Linked DNA regions of Homo sapiens: all the other regions are linked to region 1. Evidence: promoter capture Hi-C in 16 types of primary human blood cells and fetal thymus (Javierre and others, 2016). All regions are on one chromosome and are shown on one strand. The core of a region is centred on a gene start or on the middle of the fragment in contact, and the rest is flanking DNA. Distances in the headings are between cores, read along the strand shown. Region 1 holds the start of BMP6 (bone morphogenetic protein 6). Region 2 overlaps LOC105374910 (a long non-coding RNA gene). Region 3 overlaps EEF1E1 (eukaryotic translation elongation factor 1 epsilon 1). Region 4 overlaps BLOC1S5 (biogenesis of lysosomal organelles complex 1 subunit 5).

Region 1 (3,134 bases), core at 238-2,737:
CCTAACATGTTCCCTACAGAAAAAAGAAGTGACAGGGCTCTTGAATTCTGAGGGTCCGGGCATCCCAGACAAAGTATCGTATTATCTTTTCGGATGGAAGAAATCCCTGTAGAGATGGTTAAAGACTGGCATTCACATAAGTTTTGTGCCCTGAAATTCATAGCTATCAGATATTTGTAGAAATAAAGACTCTTCTAAATGACCACTTGTGTCTGGGCCAAGGCAGAACTAGAAAGAAGGACTCAGTGGGTAGTTGGAGTCAGTGGTGGTCTCTATTTACCCATGAGAAATAGATTCTTGGAAATAGGATAGGAATGCTTATAAGATTTGGACCAACAGAAAGCCTATGATCTCATAAATTCATGAATCCCACAGTCTATAATCTATTTGACTTCACTCTCAAATGCCTAGGACCATTTGGACTAAGGCTGGCAAGTCAGAAAATTGCAGTTTTTATTTTCAACTCCACACAATTTTCACCAAGTAAAAAACCTTCATGTTTTACGTGAATTTGCTTCTACGATCCATAGATGACTGGATGTTCTCGGGCGGGGTAAAGGCAAATGAATTTGTGTCCTCATTGGCAAATGGTGTTGGTGGTGGTGTTATCTTGTCTAAAATCCACAGGAACCTGTGTTTCAGGACCCTGTCTATTGTCCTGACCATTCAGAATGCATGCCAAGCCCCTGCTCTTCCTGGAGTTATCTTTATCACCTCTCCTCAAGTTTTATCTTGCACCATATAAGTCACATTGTATTTCAATATTAAAATGCAACATTAATAGATAAGCTGGAGAATCAAGACATTTCCAAGAAGACAGGGGACGCCTTTTCTAATATATCGTCTGATTACACCCTCTTTCTTTTGGGTGCTAGCTTAAGAAGCCAAACCAAAGCACAAATGAACAGAGAAGTCAACACATCCGACCCCAAACCCTCAGGACGCTGGCTTGGGTTACATGTGGCCCTCTCTGTGGTCAGTTTGTGAGTAGCCTCCCCGGAGGGTGTGTCCCAACTTCCAGCAGCTGCCGTGGAAAGCCACGTGTCCGCTAAACGCCTACATTACATCAATAAGAGAAACTAAGGAAGGGATGGAAAAGCTATCATTTTTCTTTTCTTCCTCAGTTCTGGCAGTATAGTGATTTAATCGCTGTTATTATTTTTATTTAGTTAAAGCATCAACTTAGGCCTTTTAAATGATGGTAAAAGAGAAAGCTTCAGATCGGGGTATTGGTCAGATCATTCTTACTAGCGATGACCTCTTCGCCTTTGGCACCTCGCGGCTCTTCGCATGCCTCCAAGAATTCCCGGGTCTTGAAACCTACGCGCGGCGGAGGCGACGCCTCTCGGGAGAGGGAGGGTGAAAGAAGGGGCGGGGCTATTTAAATAGCCCGCGAGCTTCGCGTCCCCATTGGCTGCCAGCCTGTCGGTTACCGCGGGGCGGGGAGTCCCGGGGCTGGAGTGAGGTACCTGAGCCGGGCGCGCAGCAGAAAGCCCACGTTGGCCGCTGCGGGGAGCGCGGCGTGGAGAGGCGGGAGACCGAATTCCGGCGCCGCCGCCGCGGCCGCTGCTCGGTGCACTAGCCCCCTTCCTTCCCATCCTTTCTGCGAGCGGGTTTGCTGGGCAGCCGGGCGACCGCCGAACGGAAAGCAAGATCCTCGCCGCCTCCGCTTGAGGAGGCGTGCGGCGCGCGGAGATTTTGAGTGGGAGCGACGGTGCCCGAGAGCTCAGGGGCGCGGAGTTCGTGAGCGAGAAGGAAGTTAAACCTCGCGGAATAGACTGGCATTTCGGGACGCCTTGTCGCCGCAGCCTGGGCCCTGCAACGGGGTAAACTTCATGGTGGCCCTGCGATCTGGGGAGGGGCGTGCGCCACGGTGATGCCGGGCATCTCCCGCAGCTCGTGAGCGGCCCCGCTCCCCGCTGCCCCGGGTCCCACTCAGTCGCCAGGGAGAGCGCGGGGCAGCGCACGTGTGCGGCCAGCGAGGCCCAGAGTGACCGCGCCGCGACTCGCAGGAGCCAGGGCGCAGGCTGCAGTGCAGCCCGGACTCAGACGCACCTGGCCTGGACCGCGCGCCTCTAGAGACCTGCGCGAGGCTGTGAGGCTCCCCTTCCTCCCCTCCAAGCGGTTCTCCTGGTGATCGCCCCTTCGCCACCTCTCTAGCCTGGGCAACTGGGGGCGCCCCGGACGACCATGAGAGATAAGGACTGAGGGCCAGGAAGGGGAAGCGAGCCCGCCGAGAGGTGGCGGGGACTGCTCACGCCAAGGGCCACAGCGGCCGCGCTCCGGCCTCGCTCCGCCGCTCCACGCCTCGCGGGATCCGCGGGGGCAGCCCGGCCGGGCGGGGATGCCGGGGCTGGGGCGGAGGGCGCAGTGGCTGTGCTGGTGGTGGGGGCTGCTGTGCAGCTGCTGCGGGCCCCCGCCGCTGCGGCCGCCCTTGCCCGCTGCCGCGGCCGCCGCCGCCGGGGGGCAGCTGCTGGGGGACGGCGGGAGCCCCGGCCGCACGGAGCAGCCGCCGCCGTCGCCGCAGTCCTCCTCGGGCTTCCTGTACCGGCGGCTCAAGACGCAGGAGAAGCGGGAGATGCAGAAGGAGATCTTGTCGGTGCTGGGGCTCCCGCACCGGCCCCGGCCCCTGCACGGCCTCCAACAGCCGCAGCCCCCGGCGCTCCGGCAGCAGGAGGAGCAGCAGCAGCAGCAGCAGCTGCCTCGCGGAGAGCCCCCTCCCGGGCGACTGAAGTCCGCGCCCCTCTTCATGCTGGATCTGTACAACGCCCTGTCCGCCGACAACGACGAGGACGGGGCGTCGGAGGGGGAGAGGCAGCAGTCCTGGCCCCACGAAGCAGCCAGCTCGTCCCAGCGTCGGCAGCCGCCCCCGGGCGCCGCGCACCCGCTCAACCGCAAGAGCCTTCTGGCCCCCGGATCTGGCAGCGGCGGCGCGTCCCCACTGACCAGCGCGCAGGACAGCGCCTTCCTCAACGACGCGGACATGGTCATGAGCTTTGTGAACCTGGGTAAGGATTTGGGGTAACGTAATGACGAGAACATTTCCCCCTTTTCAGTGTCCCGGGCCCAGGGGATGGAGTGAGGGGGTGGAGGAGCTCCCGGCGCGCGGGTCCCGCCTGGTGCGCCAGAGAACG
Region 2 (3,134 bases), core at 451-2,950, 490 kb after region 1:
ACACCATGGAATACTATGCAGCCATAAAAAATGATGAGTTCATGTCCTTTGTAGGGACATGGATGAAATTGGAAATCATCATTCTCAGTAAACTATCGCAAGAACAAAAAACCAAACACCGCATATTCTCACTCATAGGTGGGAATTGAACAATGAGATCACATGGACACAGGAAGGGGAATATCACACTCTGGGGACTGTGGTGGGGTGGGGGGAGGGGGGAGGGATAGCATTGGGAGATATACCTAATGCTAGATGACGAGTTAGTGGGTGCAGCGCACCAGCATGGCACATGTATACATATGTAACTAACCTGCACAATGTGCACATGTACCCTAAAACTTAAAGTATAATAATAAAAAAAAAAGCATGAGTTAGCACTCACTGAGATACTTCTATCATATATTTTTTCTTTTTAATTAATATTTCATGACCAGTTAACCAGCAGTCTGTTATCCTTCTAATAAAGAAAAAGGTATTATAACCAATAAAATATATTTATTGCCCTCATTTTAAAGTCTTGATTAAGGACCCATCCCTCCCTTGTGAAAGTCTTTTTTAAAACATCATCAGAAGTACACAATCAATGGGGAAAGAAGCCCTTGTTTGTTTAAAGAAGAAACATATTCCCCAACAGAAGATATAAAAACATAAGTCTGCAAATAAAACATGTGGGTCTGTTTACTTAGTAGAGATTTTGTATCTGGCTAGTGTAAGTATAGTCATTCTCAATTTTGAGGGATTCAGGAATTTTTGCTTTTGTAAACTCAATATATGAGATATAATGCAACTCGAACATAAGAAAATAACTCGTTTTCATTCGCATTATGAGAAAAGGGATGTAGTGCCTATAGGACCATCTTACATGAACACAACATACATTTCTCTTTTTTTTTGAGACAGAGTCTCGTTGTTGCCTGGGCTGGAGTGCAGTGGCAGGATCTCCGCTCACTGCAAGCTCCGCCTCCCAGGTTCATGCCATTCTCCTGCCTCAGCCTCCCGAGTAGCTGGGACTATAGGCGCCCGCCACCACATCCGACTAATTTTTTGTATTTTTAGTAGAGACGGAGTTTCACCGAACACAACATACATTTCTCAAGTTATGGCTATCAATCATTCTGGAAGCTTGCATTGTGGGTTCCAGCAGTTGGAATCTGTTAAACAGATCTATACTACTGAAAATTCTGTGCAAGACAGCTAGAGAAAGAGCTTAATGAATTCATTCTGAGGTGGCTAGATATCAATTAGCCAGAGTAAGTGAAGAAATTGTAAAGCAAAAGGTGTGTGTAGAGCTCTTCCTTTGTGTGGTGAGAGCTCTTGGTTTTACTCATCAGAGGAGATGCAGAAGACTCCAAGCTGTCTGCACACTGCTGCCATCACTCGAGGGGGTCATTGCTTTAGGAATTTTTCCTAGCTTTTCCTACTTTGATGAATTACTTTGAAATACTTTACTATGCTTCACAATATAAGATTCAAATATAAAAATAAAATCATACAGTTTTAAAAGTAAAATAGAACCTTAGAAAGATTCCACTTTATTTAATTTTTCACTTGAGAGAAAGAAGGTATAAAGAGTTTAAATAATGTGCCTGAGGCAACACAGCTAGCTGGTGGCAAAACTGGGACTAGAATTCACCTCATTCTGCCTTGTGATTTTAGAACTGAAAGAAGCTAATTTCTCATTTGTGCAGCCCATTTCATCAATGGACATTAAAAGTTCTGTTTAAAGTGCTAGTTAATTTACCGATTGCCAGGACTTAGTCAACTGAGGTAAATCCAAAATGTGTTTGATATACTTCAGTAAGCAAAAAGGGTACTTTTTTCAGTAAACTGGAGTTAAAGACGTATTTACTTTTAGGCGGAAAGACTATTTGTAAGGCATTATGACAATTGCTGAATCTAAATCAGTATAAACATAGAATTCCGTTAAAAGTATTTTAAAAATTGGGTTGATTCTGGTTAGTTTGCCAATGAAGTCATTGAATAAATGTTGCAAAAAGCTAGAGAAATCTGTGCAATGTTCAGAATTTGACCTAGATTGCATATGGGTTTTAAAAAATGCCACCACATTCATTATTGTGAGTAATTACTTATAAATATATAACAATACACTTTGCAAATATGAAATGCTCGTGTAGAGTATTAAATGCCGGTAATCCTTAAGTATTCTGAAAAGTAAAATTATTTCCCCAGTTGTTTCTGCTTTCATGTAAAGAGTAATCAATGAGCTTGTTTTTATTAGCATTTCTGTTGGTGTGTTTACGTCTTGATGGCTCAAAGCTTAAAGAAAAAGCAAAGCAATATAAATTCTACTGATAGTAATAAAAATATTAAAGCTGAGAAAGAACCACTTGTAGCTTCATATCTTCATGTGGCTAAGTTGGTTTTGGTGAATTTTCTGTGTAAAAAGCAACCAATAAACTAAACCCAACATCTCCCAACGGCATTTTCTTTTTCTGTGGTTGAATGGTGGAAAGAAGGCAGTAGTGTGCCACCTGGTGGTTCAACATGGATTGACATAGTAGAGTTTCCCCAACCCTGTATTAACCGAATTTAAAACATAACCATTATTTCCTCAGCTACCAATTCTTTCCTCCTTGGAGATATTTATTTTTCTTATTCTAAAGAATACTCATCAGGTACCATTATTCTGTTTGGAGATTGGAAATACGTTAAAATTAAAACAATCACCTCTAATATGCTTCTCACAGCTTGTCTATCCACAGACATTTGCCATTTGTGTTATACCTATGATATTTAATTACATTCAGATACAACTAAGGACTAGAAATAAAAATAATGCCATCCCAGGGTGGGCATGGTGGTGCACACCTGTAATCCCAGCACTTTGGGAGGCTAAGGAGGGCAGACCATTTGAGCCCTGGAGTTTGAGACCAGCCTGGGCAATATAGTGACACCCCATGTCTGCAAAAAATACAAAAATTAGCTGAGCATGATGGTGCATGGCTGTGGTCCCAGCTACTCTGGAGGCTGAGGTGGGAGGATTGCTTGAGCCCAGGAGGTTGAGGTTGCAGTGAGCCTTGATCGCACCACTGCACTCCAGCCTGGGCGACAGAGAGAGGCCCTGTCTTACACACAGAGACAAAAGATTGAGAAGGAAGGACTTATTACAA
Region 3 (3,134 bases), core at 415-2,914, 360 kb after region 1:
AGGTCTCACTCTGTTGCCCAGGCTGGAATGCAGTGGTGCAATCATGACTCACTGTGGCCTTGACCTCCCTGGGCTCAGAAGATCCTCCTACCTCATTCCCCCAAGTAGCTGGGACTACAGTCACAGAGCTACCACGCCTGGTTAATGGTTTTTTTTTTTTTTAAATAGAGACGGGTTTTGCCCTGTTGCCTAGGCTGGTCTTGAACTCCTGGGCTCAAGCTATCTACCTGCCTCAGCTTCCCAAAGTGCTGGGATTACAGGCATGAGCCATCATGCCCAGCCTTAATATTGCTAATCTCAATAAGCATTTAGCTGCACAAGGCACTGTTTTAAAAGCCAAGAGGGGATGAACAGAAATAAGACAAATCCTCTTTGGTCTCTTATTTTGTGTAAATTGAATCATATTCTTTGTAAGTATGGGGAATATTCATTCTACTTCACTCCTGTTGTCCCAATGTAATTATTAATAGGCCTCCTTTCACAGCCAAGTGTTTTGGATGAGAAATCATGTGGTCGCCCTATTTACAAAGAATATTTGTAATCAAACTTATCATAAGCTTTCCAAAACAATGAAAATTCCCTTAGACAGCCAAGGCCATCCAAATCTTCAGATATTTTTCTGACAATTTTCTGATTCTGTATTCTACTTATCTGCCTCATGCATTAATAACATAATATTCTGACCAGAGATTAGCACTGGATTCCATTTTCTCTACTTCATTAATTGCTTTCATGTAAAACAGTCTAATTTCTTCAATAAGATTAATATGCCCCTGAAAATAGTTTTATACTTCTGTTGTCTCCCTCTCAAGTATGGCATAGTGGGCATACACAGTGGGCTCTCAATAAATCATTTAAAACTCATAATAGTTTTACATTAAATTAAGGATCATTCTAAGCCATTACAATAATGTTACAGAATTTAACATAATCACTGAGGGATCTTTGAGGAACAATTCAGAATAAAGTCAAGTAAATTCAAACTGAGGGATTATAGCTTGAGTAGGGAACTAATAACTGTATCCTGCATTATTACGGTACGTTTGCGGGGTGAGGGGAAACTAAAAGGAATCCACTTCTATGACTGTCATGAAGCCCAGGAGTTCTGGAGGGAACTGCATTCCATTCTGAATTTTCTGGTTACAATCCCTGTCTTCTCTCTTCAACCTCAACTGAAAACCCATACTCAAGAGGCCTCAATCTGTGCCCTCTTATTCTTGGCAAATGGCAAAACCAACTATGTAGGAGGCTTTTTCAGAGGAGAAAACGACTTTGTTTTTCCAAAAGACAAACCCTCCACTTTGCTTTATGAGGCAGATAGCAGCCCCAAACCATGGATAGGTTGGGGCCTGCGCAGACCTCAATTATTACGGTATTTTACAGTTTATAAGACAAAGAGCTTCCCCACACATTAAGACACTTCAGTCAGAAGATCTGAAAGTTTGGCCCTTCCAAAAACTGAGCGCCGTGCCTTTAAACCACTCAAGTTTCCTAAGCATTAGTTTCTTTCTCTGTAAAAGAAGGCCAATAACACTGGTCCTATTTCCTTCTTAGTGATGAGGTACAGTGAGAAAGTATAGAGGAAACTCCTTGAAAAGCATAGAGAAATACGTTTAAAAATTTATTCAGTGTTTATGGAGGGGTGACCACCTACACATGCCAGGAATTACCTCAGACAATGGTGTTACAAATATGTGTCGCTACAATCATTGAGTCAAACAGCTTATAATTTAGAGAGATTTTCAAAGAATTACAGTAAGAGTGAAATGAGCTAGACCCGAAGTGTACATGAGGTACAAACACACACAGAGGAAGGAGCACCTCAATGTGGTTTAGGCGCCTGAGAGAGATGCAGCCGAGGAATGAGTGGGAACCGAGAGATACTTGGGAAATGCAAATGAAGTGGAGAGGAAGGGAAGGGCTGGGACCAGGGAACAAAAGAGAAGAGTAATGCAAGGATGCTGGGTAGAAACAGCCCAGCATACAGCAGGCTCTGGGGCACATGTTGTGGCTGAGAGAATGACGGGAAGGAGGATAGCAAGGGAGGCAGGAGTCAGATGAATTAAGACAGGGTTTCACTCTTGTCGCCCAAGCTGGAGTGCCTTGGTGCGATCTCTGCTCAGGGCAACCTCTTCCTCCTGGGTTCAAGCAATTCTCCTGCCTCAGCCTCTGGAGTAGCTGGGATTTCAGGCATGCGCCACCACGCCTGGCTGATTTTTGTAGTTTTACTAGAGATGGGGTTTCACCATGTTGGCCAGGCTGGTCTCGAACTCCTGACCTCAGGTGATCCACCTGCCTTGGCCTCCCAAAGTGCTGGGATTACAGGCGTGAGCCACCGCGCCCAGCTAAGTTTTGTATTTTTAGTAGAGATGGGGTTTCGCCATGTTGGCCAGGCTGGTCTCAAACTCCTGACCTCAAGTGATCTGCCCGCCTTGGCCTCCCAAAGTGCTGGGATTACAGGGGTGAGCTACTGTGCCTGTCTGAGTTGATTATTTTGAGAAAGAAAAAGACACGGTCATGAGAAAGACTGCTCCAGGGGCCACCAAGCTCATCTCTTACAGTCCATCCTCTTTAGATGAACAAAAGATTCTAAATACTGGAACTTGGGCAATGTCATTGGATCACAGGAAAAGACACATGTGAGAGGCATTTAGGAGCTGGAAATCAGGATCTGATTGACTGGATGCATGAGGTGCACAATGCACAAAAACACATGAGTTCTTTTTTTTCCACAGGGGGAAGATGGGTGTTGGGGTGATGGGGAGTTGAGCCAAGCTTGTAGGCAGAGAGATGGTCATAACAAAGCACATATTCTGGGGCCAAAGTGTCTGGTTTCTGGACCTCGTTCCACCACTTACTTGGGCAATCTCAAAGAAAACACTTGACCTCTCTACGCCTCAGTTATCTCATCTGTAAAATGGGGCTATTATTAGTGCCTACCCTATATGGCTGTTATTAGGATTAAATGAGTCAACATTTGTACAGCATGAAGAACAGTGCCAAGAACATAGTGAGTATCATGTCATCGTTCATGAACAAATTTAAAATAAAGAGACTGATCATGTAGGTAGTGGACAAGATTGAAGGAAAAAAAAGGAAATACAATCTGGAGCAAGATCCAGAAAAGGGGCAGG
Region 4 (3,134 bases), core at 447-2,946, 320 kb after region 1:
CTAGTGAATCACTGAACTTGCAGGTGGTTTTAGGAACCCCGAAAACATCTCCATTCCAGAAAATAGAGCAAAACCACCCTCCCTGCCCAAAATGAGGGTGGGTTATACTTAGTAACTTGCTTTCAAAGAATAGAACAGGGAAAGGGAAAAATATTAACATTATAGTAGAGAAAACTAGCAACATGATACTAGAGAAAACTAGCCAATGCAATAATACCTCAACCAAGCCAAGAAGGTTCATATTATCAGTGGTATCGTGTTGATAGCATGCACCCACTGATGTAATGCGATAAGGGTACTTCATCTCTGTGGTATTCTTTCCCAATACCCATAACCCCAGTCTAGTCATGAGAAAAACAACAGACAAACCCAGATTGGATACCTAGCCAGTACTCAAGACTTATGCAAAGGTCATAAAAAATAAGGAAAGGCGGAGGAACTGTCACAGACCAAAGACTAAGGTGGCATGATCATTCAATGCAATGTGGTACCCCAGATGAGATTCTGGAACAGAAAGGGGACTGTAATAGAAAAACTGGTAAAATTCAAATAAAGTCTGGTGTTTCATTGACAGTAATGTATCAATGTTGGTTTCTTAGCTTTTACAAATGCAGCATGGTAATGTAAGAAATAAAATAATGAAAGAAATTGGGTGAGGTGTTGATATGGTTTGGCTGTGTCCCCACCCAAGTCTCAACTTGAATTGTATCTCCCAGAATTCCCACATGTTGTGGGAGGGACCTAGGGGGAGGTAATTGAATCATGGGGGCCCGTCTTTCCCATACTATTCTCCTGATAGTGAATAAGTCTCTGATGGGCTTATCAGGGGTTTCCACTTTTGCTTCTTCCTCATTTTCTCTTGCTACCACCATGTTAAGAAGTGCCTTTCAGGCCAGGCGCGATGGCTCACGCCTGTAATCCCAGCACTTTGGGAAGCTGAGGTGGGCGGATCATGAGGTTAGGAGTTTGAGACAAGCCTGGCCAACACGGTGAAACCCCATCTCTACTAAAGATACAAAAAAATTAGCCAGGCGTGGTGGTGCATGCCTGTAATCCTAGCTACTCAGGAGGCTGAGGCAGGAGAATCGCTTGAACCTGGGAGGTGGGGGTTACAGTGAGCCAAGATTGTGCCACTGCTCTCCAGCCTGGGCGACAGAGCAAGACTCTGTCTCAAAAAAAAAAAAAAAAAAAAAGAAGGAAGTGTCTTTCGCCTCCCACCATGATTCTGAGGCCTCCCCACCCATGTGGAACTGTAAGTCCAATTAAACCTCTTTTTCTTTCCAGTCTTGGGTATGTCTTTATCAGTAGAGTGAAAACAGACTAATACAGTAAATTGGTACCAGTAGAGTGGGGCGTGGCTGAAAAGATAGAAGAAAATGTGGAAGCAACTTTGGAAATGAGTAACAGGCAAAGGTTGGAACAGTTTGGAGGGCTCAGAAGAAGACAGGAAAATGTAAGAAAGTTTGGGACTTCCTAGAGACTTGCTGAATGGCTTTGACAAAAATGCTGATGGTGATATGAACAATAAGGTCCAGGCTGAGGTGGTCTCAGATGGACATGAGGAACTTGTTGGGAACTGGAGCAAAGGTGACTCTTGTTATGCTTTAGCAAAGAGACTGGTGGCATTTTTTCCTTGCGCTAGAGATCTGTGGAACTTTGAACTTGAGAGAGATCATTGAGAGTATCTGGTGGAAGAAATTTCTAAGGAGCAAAGCATTCAAGAGGTGACTTGGGTGCTGTGAAAGGCATTCAGTTTTATAAGGTAAGCGGAGCATAAAAGTTTGGAAAATCTGTAGCCTGACAATGCAAAAGAAAAGAAAATTTCATTTTCTGAGGAGAAATCCAAGCCGGCTGCAGAAATTTGCATAAGTAACAAGGAGCCAAATGTCAATCCCCAAGACAATGGGGAAAATGTCTCCAGAGCATGTCAGAGGTCTTCATGGCTGTCCCTCCCATCACAGGCCCAGAGGCCTAGGGGTAAAAAGTGGTTTGTGGGCTAGGTCCATGGCCTCCATGCTGTGTGCAGCCTAGGGACTTGGTGCCCCATGTCCCAGCCACTCCAGCAGTGGCTGAAAGGGGCCGACATACAGCTTGGGCTGTGAATTCAGAGGGTGGAAGCCCCAGGCTTTGGCAGCTTCCAAGTAATGTTGAGCCTGTGGTGCACAGAAGTCAAGAATGGAGGTTTGGGAACCTCTGCCTAGATTTCAGAAGATGTAAGGAAATGCCTGGGTGTCCAGGCAAAAGTTTGCTGCAGGAGTGGGGCCCTCATGGAGAACCTCTGCTAGGGCAGTGCAGAAGGGAAATGTGGGGTCGGAGCCCCCACACAGAGTCCCTACTGGGGCACTGCCTAGCGGAGTTGTGGGAAGAGGACCACCGTCCTCCAGACCCCAGAATGGTAGATCCACCGACAGCTTGCACCATGCACCTGGAAAAGCCACAGACACTCAATGCCAGCCTATGAAAGAAGCTAGGAGGGAGGCTGTACCCTGCAAAGCAACAGGGCTGGAGCCTCCCAAGACCATAGGAATCCACCTCTCGCATCAGTGTGGCCTGAATGTGAGACCTGGAGTCAAAGGGGATCATTTTGGAGTTTTAAAATTTGATTGCCCCACTGGATTTCGGACTTGCATGGGCACTGTAATCCCTTTGTTTTGGCACATTTCTCTCATTTGGAACGGCTGTATTTACCCAATACCTGTAACCCCATTGTATCTAGGAAGTAACTATCTCGCTTTTGATTTTGCAGGCTTACAGGTGAAAGGGACTTGCCTTGTCTCAGAGGAGACTTTGGACTGTGGACTTTTGGGATTAATGCTGAAATGAGTTAAGACTTTGGGGGACTGCTGGGAAGGCATGATTGGTTTTGAAATGTGAGGACGTGAGATTTGGAGGGGCCAAAGGTGGAATTATATGGTTTGGCTCTGTCCCCACCCAAATCTCAACTTGAATTGTATCTCCCAGAACTCCCACGTGTTGTGGGAAGAACCCAGGGGGAGGTAATTGAATCATGGGGCCAGTCTTTCCCATACTATTCTCATGACAGTGAATAAGTCTCATGAGATCTGATGGGCTTATCAGGGGTTTCTGCTTTTGCTTCTTTCTCATTTTCACTTGCTGCCACCATGTAAGAAGTG

The links. The method cuts DNA at HindIII sites, captures the fragments that hold promoters and counts their contacts. A CHiCAGO score of 5 or more calls a contact.
Region 2: a contact is called between a fragment that was not itself captured here and the fragment with the promoter of BMP6 in region 1, in 13 of 17 cell types (naive B cells, naive CD4 T cells, naive CD8 T cells and 10 more). The highest score is 16.8, in naive B cells.
Region 3: a contact is called between a fragment that was not itself captured here and the fragment with the promoter of BMP6 in region 1, in 4 of 17 cell types (endothelial precursors, M1 macrophages, M2 macrophages and 1 more). The highest score is 11.6, in endothelial precursors.
Region 4: a contact is called between a fragment that was not itself captured here and the fragment with the promoter of BMP6 in region 1, in 7 of 17 cell types (endothelial precursors, M1 macrophages, erythroblasts and 4 more). The highest score is 17.2, in endothelial precursors.

What each region holds. Positions count from the first base shown.
Region 1 is chr6:7,724,612-7,727,745 of GRCh38, forward strand. It overlaps BMP6 (bone morphogenetic protein 6), which reads left to right and starts at 1,488. Exons shown (of 7, transcript NM_001718.6): 1 at 1,488-3,008. The coding sequence starts at 2,345. The HindIII fragment of the contact is 3,909 bases long and covers 1,213-3,134 here.
Region 2 is chr6:8,217,056-8,220,189 of GRCh38, forward strand. All of the region lies in intron 2 of LOC105374910 (a long non-coding RNA gene), which reads left to right. Among named protein-coding and RNA genes, the nearest start is that of EEF1E1-BLOC1S5, 120 kb to the left of the region's middle. The HindIII fragment of the contact is 1,155 bases long and covers 1,124-2,278 here.
Region 3 is chr6:8,085,171-8,088,304 of GRCh38, forward strand. All of the region lies in intron 3 of EEF1E1 (eukaryotic translation elongation factor 1 epsilon 1), which reads right to left. The region is part of intron 3 of EEF1E1-BLOC1S5 (EEF1E1-BLOC1S5 readthrough (NMD candidate)); the gene reads right to left. It also overlaps SCARNA27. Among named protein-coding and RNA genes, the nearest start is that of EEF1E1, 16 kb to the right of the region's middle. The HindIII fragment of the contact is 2,218 bases long and covers 556-2,773 here.
Region 4 is chr6:8,043,112-8,046,245 of GRCh38, forward strand. All of the region lies in intron 2 of BLOC1S5 (biogenesis of lysosomal organelles complex 1 subunit 5), which reads right to left. The region is part of intron 2 of BLOC1S5-TXNDC5 (BLOC1S5-TXNDC5 readthrough (NMD candidate)); the gene reads right to left. All of the region lies in intron 4 of EEF1E1-BLOC1S5 (EEF1E1-BLOC1S5 readthrough (NMD candidate)), which reads right to left. Among named protein-coding and RNA genes, the nearest start is that of BLOC1S5, 20 kb to the right of the region's middle. The HindIII fragment of the contact is 3,648 bases long and covers 1-3,134 here.